3 separate regions of the Homo sapiens genome follow, and regions 2 and 3 are each linked to region 1. The links are contacts of gene promoters, found by promoter capture Hi-C in blood cells and fetal thymus (Javierre and others, 2016). All regions are on one chromosome and are shown on one strand. The core of a region is centred on a gene start or on the middle of the fragment in contact, and the rest is flanking DNA. Distances in the headings are between cores, read along the strand shown.

Evidence for each region. The method cuts DNA at HindIII sites, captures the fragments that hold promoters and counts their contacts. A CHiCAGO score of 5 or more calls a contact.
Region 2: a contact is called between a fragment that was not itself captured here and the fragment with the promoter of LINC00449 in region 1, in 1 of 17 cell types (naive CD8 T cells). The highest score is 5.7, in naive CD8 T cells.
Region 3: a fragment that was not itself captured here is called in contact with the fragment with the promoter of LINC00449 in region 1 in 4 of 17 cell types (activated CD4 T cells, naive CD4 T cells, fetal thymus and 1 more); the score reaches 6.9 in activated CD4 T cells.

The regions. Positions count from the first base shown.
Region 1 is chr13:99,499,794-99,502,493 of GRCh38, reverse strand. It overlaps LINC00449 (long intergenic non-protein coding RNA 449), which reads left to right and starts at 1,431. Exons shown (of 2, transcript NR_133664.1): 1 at 1,431-2,099; 2 at 2,554-2,700. It overlaps TM9SF2 (transmembrane 9 superfamily member 2), which reads right to left and starts at 1,022. Exons shown (of 17, transcript NM_004800.3): 1 at 717-1,022. The coding sequence starts at 887. RefSeq lists enhancers at 642-1,230, 1,137-1,316. The HindIII fragment of the contact is 1,300 bases long and covers 588-1,887 here.
Region 2 is chr13:100,518,079-100,520,778 of GRCh38, reverse strand. All of the region lies in intron 22 of PCCA (propionyl-CoA carboxylase subunit alpha), which reads right to left. Among named protein-coding and RNA genes, the nearest start is that of PCCA-AS1, 38 kb to the right of the region's middle. RefSeq lists an enhancer at 877-1,542. The HindIII fragment of the contact is 2,940 bases long and covers 1-2,700 here.
Region 3 is chr13:100,583,146-100,585,845 of GRCh38, reverse strand. GGACT (gamma-glutamylamine cyclotransferase) reads left to right here. Exons shown (of 3, transcript NM_001195087.2): 2 at 1,849-2,021. Among named protein-coding and RNA genes, the nearest start is that of GGACT, 4.3 kb to the left of the region's middle. The HindIII fragment of the contact is 1,462 bases long and covers 555-2,016 here.

The DNA of each region.
Region 1 (2,700 bases), core at 182-2,681:
ATCTCAGAGAAAATAGTGAGACCTCGTATCTTTTTTTGTGTATTAAAATCTTTTACACTTAAAACTCAGAAATCAAGTGCCTCAACCATTACAGCAACTCTTTATTAATGCACTTTGTGTGGCTCTGGGTGTTATACTCCACAAATAAGGAACCAACTTCTAATTGTGAAGCGAGATATCAAAGTCCTAGAAAGAACAAGCTCTCCTAACCAACTAGAAGGTTCCAGGAAAATGCAATTAAACAGGAAGCAATGAAGTTAAAAGCTAATGGAAACTGTTAACTAGGCTGAGTGTTGCTCACATGTAGGGAGTCGGTCACCCGCTTCCTCAGCGTACATGTTACAGGGCTGTGAGCGAACACTCACGCGTGGACCTGCATACATCCAACTCCAAAGCTCTGAGGCGTGAAGCCCAACTCCAAGGGCGCTCCACACGGTCCCTGTTCCAGGAAAACTGAATACAGCTGCTCGTGCCACTTGGCCCGCAAGACGGGAGGCGAGTCTGAGGCCCACTGCGTCCTCCAGAAACTACCCTTGCAAGGGCTGTTTCAGAGCCCCCCACCCACAGCCCAGCAGACCCCAAAAGCTTCTGGGGAAACTCAACCCCACCCGCTGCTACGCCCCCTTCCCTCGCTCCCACCCGAGGATCAGCTCCCCCGGATAGGGACGACTTCCCCTTCCAACAGTGCATCAGAGGGCTCGTCAGGCCTCACCCACCTTGCACTCGTCGCTCTTTTTTTCTTCGTCGCAGAAGTTGACGGGCGCCAGGCCGGGCAGGTAGAAAGCGCCGCTCCGGCGCGGGCCAGGAACCGCCCCCAGCAGGAGCAGCGACAGCAGCAACAGCCGCGGCCACCGAGGTGGAGACAACACCGGCAGCCTCGCGCTCATGATAGTTGTTTCGGGGAAAGGGCAATCAAACCTAGGGGGTCAAGAGGGAAGGAGGGGTGGGGAGTCTCGGAGACGACTACAAGGCCGCCAGAGATAAAGGAAGCCGGCCCCCAGAAGGCTAGTTCCGGTTGCGCTAGGAGACACCCCGGGTCCCGCAACAGAAACCGAAGCGGACCGCAACAGAGCATGCGCACCGCCGTCTGCACATGCTCAGTGAGAACGGTCGCAGGCACCAGGAGGAGTTTCCGGGAGGGAGCGGGGGCGAAATCCACTTTCCGGGTTTTCCGCGCGCCAGCTGAGGTGGTTGCTGGGAGAGGTGGTTGCTGGGAGAGCTGTTCCGGCGCTCACGTTCCAATTCCAAATTACAAATTCCGATCTAGAGCTCCCACGCTTGGGGGCTGTGGAGCGCTCGCCAGCCGCTCCCCGTTTGCTGCTGGGTCTTACGAAGTTCTCATATCCATCATACAGTTTCTTTGTCACACTGTCCGCGGCACGCCAGTCCCTATGACAGAAAGCACCTGCGGTCTGTCTGGAGGCGGAGTTGGTGGCGGAGAGAAAAAGTTCTGGAGACACCTGGTTGGGAGCAGGCTAAGGAAACAAATGGGGAGGAATTAGCCACAAATCCTCAAATAGACAGCTACTCAAAGGCATCTTCACGGACAATTTCCAAGCATTGGATGCAGTGGTGCATTCTTGCATTGGGCAGTGATTGTGTGCACACATCTCTTTAAGGGAGAGTGGAAATGGGGTGAGGAGGAAAATGGGAGTAGGATAGAGTGTAGCGTTGACATTTATTTTCTTTAAAGGAAGACCCGAGCATACCTGAGAGCTCAGTGAAGAAAGTAGTTCTGGCGAATCGGATTAATATGGTATGATCAGCCTTTAGCAAGATTCTATCACTTTTCCCACTGATGATGTGAGACGGTGTCCGCGTGTGTAAGTGCACACACGTGTGTGTGTGTGTGTGTTGCATCTTCTGAGTATTTTTCAAGGAGAAGCTTTTTAGTGATCTGAAAAAGTCAATTCAGTTAGCCACTAGAGTTCAATCAAAAACTTCGGAAGAGTGCATCATCTTAAAGTACATAAGAGAGAATCATGACCTCCAGCTCAGAATTCAAGAATAGGCAGGTTTGTGAAATAGTAAGCTCAGAAAGTTGAGGGCCAGTGAACTCCTATTTCAAGTTCTTGCGGGTGTTTGTACTTTTTTCCCAGGTAAGGTTTATAACTTTCATCAGATTTTCAAAGGGACCTAGGACCCTGCAAATTGATCCATATAGTGGGGTAGCCAAGTTAATCAAGAGAACTGGGAAGTAGAAAAGAACGTTCATCTTAAGGTTGTTGTGAAGATTAAATCAAAAATGGAGGGAAAGTGCTGAGCACATAGCTTGGCCCAAGGAATGGCACTTTTTTTTTTTTTTTTGATAACAAAAACTAATCTGGTAGGGCCTGAGCAGAAAATTGTGCCTAGGTGGCTTCCCTTTCATGTCCTCTCCCTCAAATAAATCAACATATTCGCTGAACTTTGGGATAGGGAAAAATTGTAAAATATTCTGTATTTGGAAGTCATGGAGATTTCCAATATAACAAAAGGAAGCAGACGTTTTCTCCAAATATTAAGAGGAGGAAACAAAAATTAACATTTTTGCTCACTATCTTCTTTTCCTAGCACCACTGAAACTTGACCTTCGGCCGGCGCGGTGGCTCACGCCTGTAATCCCAGCACTTTGGGAGGCCGAGATGGGCGGATCACGAGGTCAGAAGATCGAGACCATCCTGGCTAACACGGTGAAACCCCGTCTCTACTAAAAATACA
Region 2 (2,700 bases), core at 155-2,654, 1.0 Mb before region 1:
CATTGAGTATATTCAACTGTAAAAATTCCCAGTACTAATAGATATTTTTTTACCTCCTCATCTTTTTCTGCCTCCTCTTATCTACTAATAGATATTTGTTACCTCCAACAAAAACCAACTCTTTTTTTTTTTTTTTTTTTTTTTGAGACGGAGTCTCGCTCTGTCGCCCAGGCTGGAGTGCTGTGGCGCGATCTCCGCTCACTGCAAGCTCCGCCTTCCGGGTTCACGCCATTCTCCTGCCTCAGCCTCCCGAGTAGCTGGGACTACAGGCGCCCGCCACTGCGCCCGGCTAATTTTTTGTATTTTTAGTAGAGACGGGGTTTCACCGTGGTCTCGATCTCCTGACCTCGTGATCCGCCCGCCTCGGCCTCCCAAAGTGCTGGGATTACAGGCGTGAGCCACCGCGCCCGGCCAAAAACCAACTCTTAACATTTAAAAATAAATGTTATCTGGAAAAGATTAAAAGGCCAAATCCAGGGGTAGTCGTTACCTCTGAAGAAGACAGGACAGGAATGAGATGGAGGAGCTTGCCACAGGGGAAGTTCATGTTATATGTAATGTCTCATTGTTAAATAAAATTTGAAACACATATGGAAATGGTGAACAAAGGGCACAGGAGTGCTTGTTGGATTCTTCTCTGTAACTTTCTGCATGTTTGTAGTATTTCATAATTTTAAAGTCTTAAAATGTTAACAAATGCATGGATCTCTGTGTACATGCTGTGAGATACAATCTGAGGTTTGGGTGAAAACTGGCATCTTGTCAAATAAACTGCTTGAATAACTATTGCTATAAAACATATAAATTTAATTACTGCAATTATTTTGTGATTGTAAATCAAGGTATCCAGAAACTGGAAAGTCTATGAAGCAGCCAGGCTAGCCCCTCTGCCAGGGAAAGATGCAGTGAGCGAGCCTGGGCTGCATGAGGCACACAAGCGCGATGCCAGGCAAACACCCGTCGGGAGGGCCCAGCCCTGCCTTCTCGTTAGGATACGTGAGAGCTTATGAAATTTTAAAATCTTGTTTAAGAAATAAAAAATAAAGGTATCTCACCAAGTTTGCCAGTTCTGTATGGTCGGCTATAAGCTCAGTTACATGAGGCTTAGAGACAAAGGGGAGGAGGGGACGTCAGACTCTGAGATGGGATGGGGTGCCTGTGTCTTGTGGCCCTGACTGCACACCTGCTTGGGAGCCTGCCCTGTCAAAGGAGCACGTGCAAGGAGGAAACAAAATCAGGGTGAAGTGTAAGTGGTGTTGCCACCGACGCCCACCGATGTGATGCTTTCCCTGGCACACTGTACAGTAGGCTGTTTCTCGCCTTTAAGGCGTTGTTCACAAGAGGAACAACCGCAGACACCTCACTGTCCCCTGCTGAAGGTCAATTCCATCACGAGGTGGATCTTTTCATCTTAGCCCCACCAAAATATCCCGAAGTCTAATATCGAATGGGCTAATTCGCAAGAAAAAGCAGCAACAGGTACTTAATTTCAATCTATTCTTTCACCTGGTTTCACTAATTGTTAAGAAAGAAAGAAATGCAGATGAGTATATAGCAGCTTATGGTTTGTTTCTCATTTGTTTGGTGTATTAAATGAGTATTTCTGATGCAAATCTGTGATGACTGCAGAATACGAACATTACTTGAAAGAATCTTAACTAAATGCAATATTAAAATGCCTCCTTGGGTGACTATCTTATGGGGTGGTTTTGTTTCTGATATCAAAAGGCTAACAAAGCGAATGTGCTCATCATGACTTTATTTGACTTCAAAGTCAAAGTGAAAATTATGCAATAAATTCAGCAGCTATAAGTCTAATTTGACATGTGGAAAAATGTATTCTACCGTTATTCTGAAAATATATATATTTCTAACATTTCTGTTCAAGAGTATCATAAAGGTAGAAGTTTGAAACAGCTGAGTCATGCTAACTTTGATTACAGAAGTGCTCCCAGTTTACAATAGTGTTACGAGTCTAAGAAAACGAGTTTTCAAACTGAAATGAGTTACTGCAGAAACATTTTCAGAAGGCATATAAAAAGGCACTAAAATTTATTCTATCAGTTGTTTCCTAAATTATATTACTGATTCTGGACCTTAATAATCCACTGTACTTTCTTATTGATTTGTTTGCTTACCTGCATTTTACTGTGTATTAACATCCTCTCTCCACGTGTTCGGAAAAACTATTACACAATCATTTAAAATGTGACCTGCCACATTTAATGTTAAATAGTATATAACAGACACTGAAAAAGTTATTAGGAACTTTTGCTGTGTGAACCCTACAGAAGCCCTTCAAATAAAACACAGCTTCTGTGTTTAGGGCAGGCTGAGTGTTTCAAATGAATCAGTGCACAAGGCCCTGCCACACCAAGCGCCCCGAGCGGATTCACTACTTCTCAACGGCCACCCCACATCTCTTCTTCCTGAGGTTTTTAAACTGTGTTCAAATTGTTTACTTCACAAAACAGATTTGTTCATTACGATTTATGTGACACTTTTTTTAGAACTTATTGCCAGGCCCACCATTCTACGATTGGTCAAGTTTTACTTCAGCTAAGCTAAACAGAAACATGATAGATTACTGGAATTTAAACGATAAAAAGTAACATTTCAAAGAAAAACAGAATACTTGTAAGGCCCTTAGTTGTTTTAGGGTCCTTATTTTCCTTGAAAATACACCAAGGAGACTGACTC
Region 3 (2,700 bases), core at 36-2,535, 1.1 Mb before region 1:
TTTTTTTTTTTTTTTTTTTTTTTGGTGGAGACAGGTATTGCCCAGGCTGGTCTTTTTTTTTTTTTTCCTTCCTGAGACGGAGTCTCACTCACTCTTGTCACCCAGGCTGGAGTGCAGTGGCACAATCTTGGCTCACTGCAACCTCCGCCTCCTGGGTTCAAGTGATTCTCATGCCTCAGCCTCCCAAGTAGCTGGGACTACAGGCGCATGCCACCACACCCAACTAATTTTTGTATTTTTAGTAGAGACGGGGTTTCACCATGTTGGCCACACTGGTCTGGAGCTCCTGAACTCAAGTGATCCACCTGCCTCTGCCTCCCAAAGTGCTGCGATTACAGCCGTGAGCCACCGTGCTCAGCTGTTGCCCCTTTCAATCTAGGGCAGGGGTGGCAGATGTCTCTGTGAAGAGCCAGATACCAGCTCTTTCAGGCTTTGCAGGCCCTATGGTCTCTGCCACAACTGCTCAGCTCTGCCATCGTCATGCAGAAGTAGCCAGGGGTGATAGTAAATGGATAAGCATGGCTGTGTTCCAATAATACTTAATTTCCAAAGCTTTTGTGTTTTAAAATCCACCCACAGGCTGGACTTACCCGCAGGCTGTGGTTTGCCGACCCAAGTCTAGAGCAGCCTTGGCGGGTTTCCTCAATACCAATGACTGTCGATGTTACTTGGTTGATTGCCTGTAGGGTGCCTCACACTCTGGATCTGTTGGGCTGCTTTTCGTGGAGTGTGGTTTGGCTTGCTTCTCTATCCCCTATATTTCCTGTAAACTAGAAGTTAGATCTAGAGGCTTAATTAGGTTCATGCTTGCCATTTTTGGCAAGTCTACTTCAGAAGTGGTTTGACTTTTTTTAAATCTAAATTTATCTGACTTTAAAGACTTGGAAACCCTCATCAAAGAATCAAAGAAGCTCAACATTACCAAAATAGGAGCTCAGCATTACTAAAATTGGCTTTGCCTGATGGCTGAGAAGACATTTTTTCTTTTTCTTTTTACTTTTCTTATTTGTAGGAGAGTATATAGAGCTGTTATTTCTCAAATAGTTCTTTTTTGATAGTTAATTTTTGTGGGTACCTAGTAATAGGTGTATATGAGATACAATGTGTAATAATAAACCCTCATTACAAGGTATATGAGATACAATGTGTAATAATCACATCAGGGTAAATGGGGTATCCATCACCTCAAGCATTTATCTTTTGTGTTACAATCTAACGATACTCTTAGTTATTTTTAAATGTATAGTTACATTATTACTGACTATAGTCACCCTGTTGTGCTATCAAATACTAGATCTTATTCCTGCTTTCTGTGTTTTTGTACCCATTAACCATCTCTGCTTTCCCCCAACCCCCCTACTACCCTTCCTAGCCTCTGGTAACCATCATTCTGATCTCTATCTCAGTCAGTTCAATTGTTTTAATTTTTGGCTCCCACAAATGAGTAAGAACATGCAAAGTTTGTCTTTCTGTGTCTGGGTTATTTCACGTCACATAACGACCTCCGGCTGCACCATATTGTTGCAAATGACAGGATCTCCTTTTTAATGGCTGAATAGTACTTCATTGTGTATATGTACCACATTTTGTCAAGGAGGTCTTGAGAACTTTGAACCCTTTCTCTAGGTCACTGGGAAGGTTCCTCTATTCAAGGCATTCTTTGGCCCCTCAAGCATGTGGACTGCATTTTTGCACTGAATATAAGTATATTCCTTCCCTGGGTATGTGCCCAGGGTCTGAGATTGCCTTCTAATGGTAGTTAGGTCATTTATGTTTGTTTGTAAGCCCCTTATTGCTTAAATGTTTAACTTTCTTCAGTTGACTTCCTCTTATCTCACCTCCCAACAGGACTGAAAACTGGATATTTGGTCCCCATGGACTTTCTGGTCACCCTGTGAAGTGGACTTAACTTTTTCTTGAATCATGTGGAAGGATTCTGAAGTCAAAAGTTTTTAAGACTCTCAGGCTTACTGTGGATCTGGATTCTAAGGCAACACTTCCTTGAAGAAACAAGCTTACAGGTGAGAACTGTTAGCCTCTGTTCTAGAGTGTTCATTGCTCAAATTCTAGAGCACCACAAGAAGTATGCTGACAAATAGTGCCAGTTGGAAGCCCTTGTCTCTTTGTCATTTAAGAATAGTAGTGGTGGGGAGCCAGGTACGGTGGCTTGTACTGTAATTCCAGCACTTTAGGAGGCTGAGGCAGGAGGATTGTTTGATCCCAGGAGATTGAGGCTGCAGTGAGCTGTGATTACACTGATTATGCCATTGTGCTCCAGCCTGGGCAACAGAGTGAGACCCTGTCTCAAAAAATTAAAGGAGGAGGGAAAGGGAAGGAAAGAATAGTAGAGAAAGTGTATATTCATTTCTTCATCTGTTTTTCTCTGGGGTTGTCTTTTGATTTATAAGAATTATTTATACATTGAGAATACTAATCTTTTGTCATACGTACTATAACTATTTCCACCCTATTTTTTGTACTTTGTGTAATACAGTCTCTAGGCTTTGCAAAAAATTTTAATTTTATGTACTTAAAAATATCGATCTCCCCTTTATAGTGTCTTTGTTTTGTGTTTTGCTTAGAAAGACTTGCCCATTTTAAGGTTTCTTTTAAAAATTCGTGTTAACACAGATAAATGAAAATGTAATGAGAGCTAGGAACATGTGATTCTGAAAAAGATTATTGAAGGGGGAGTATTTC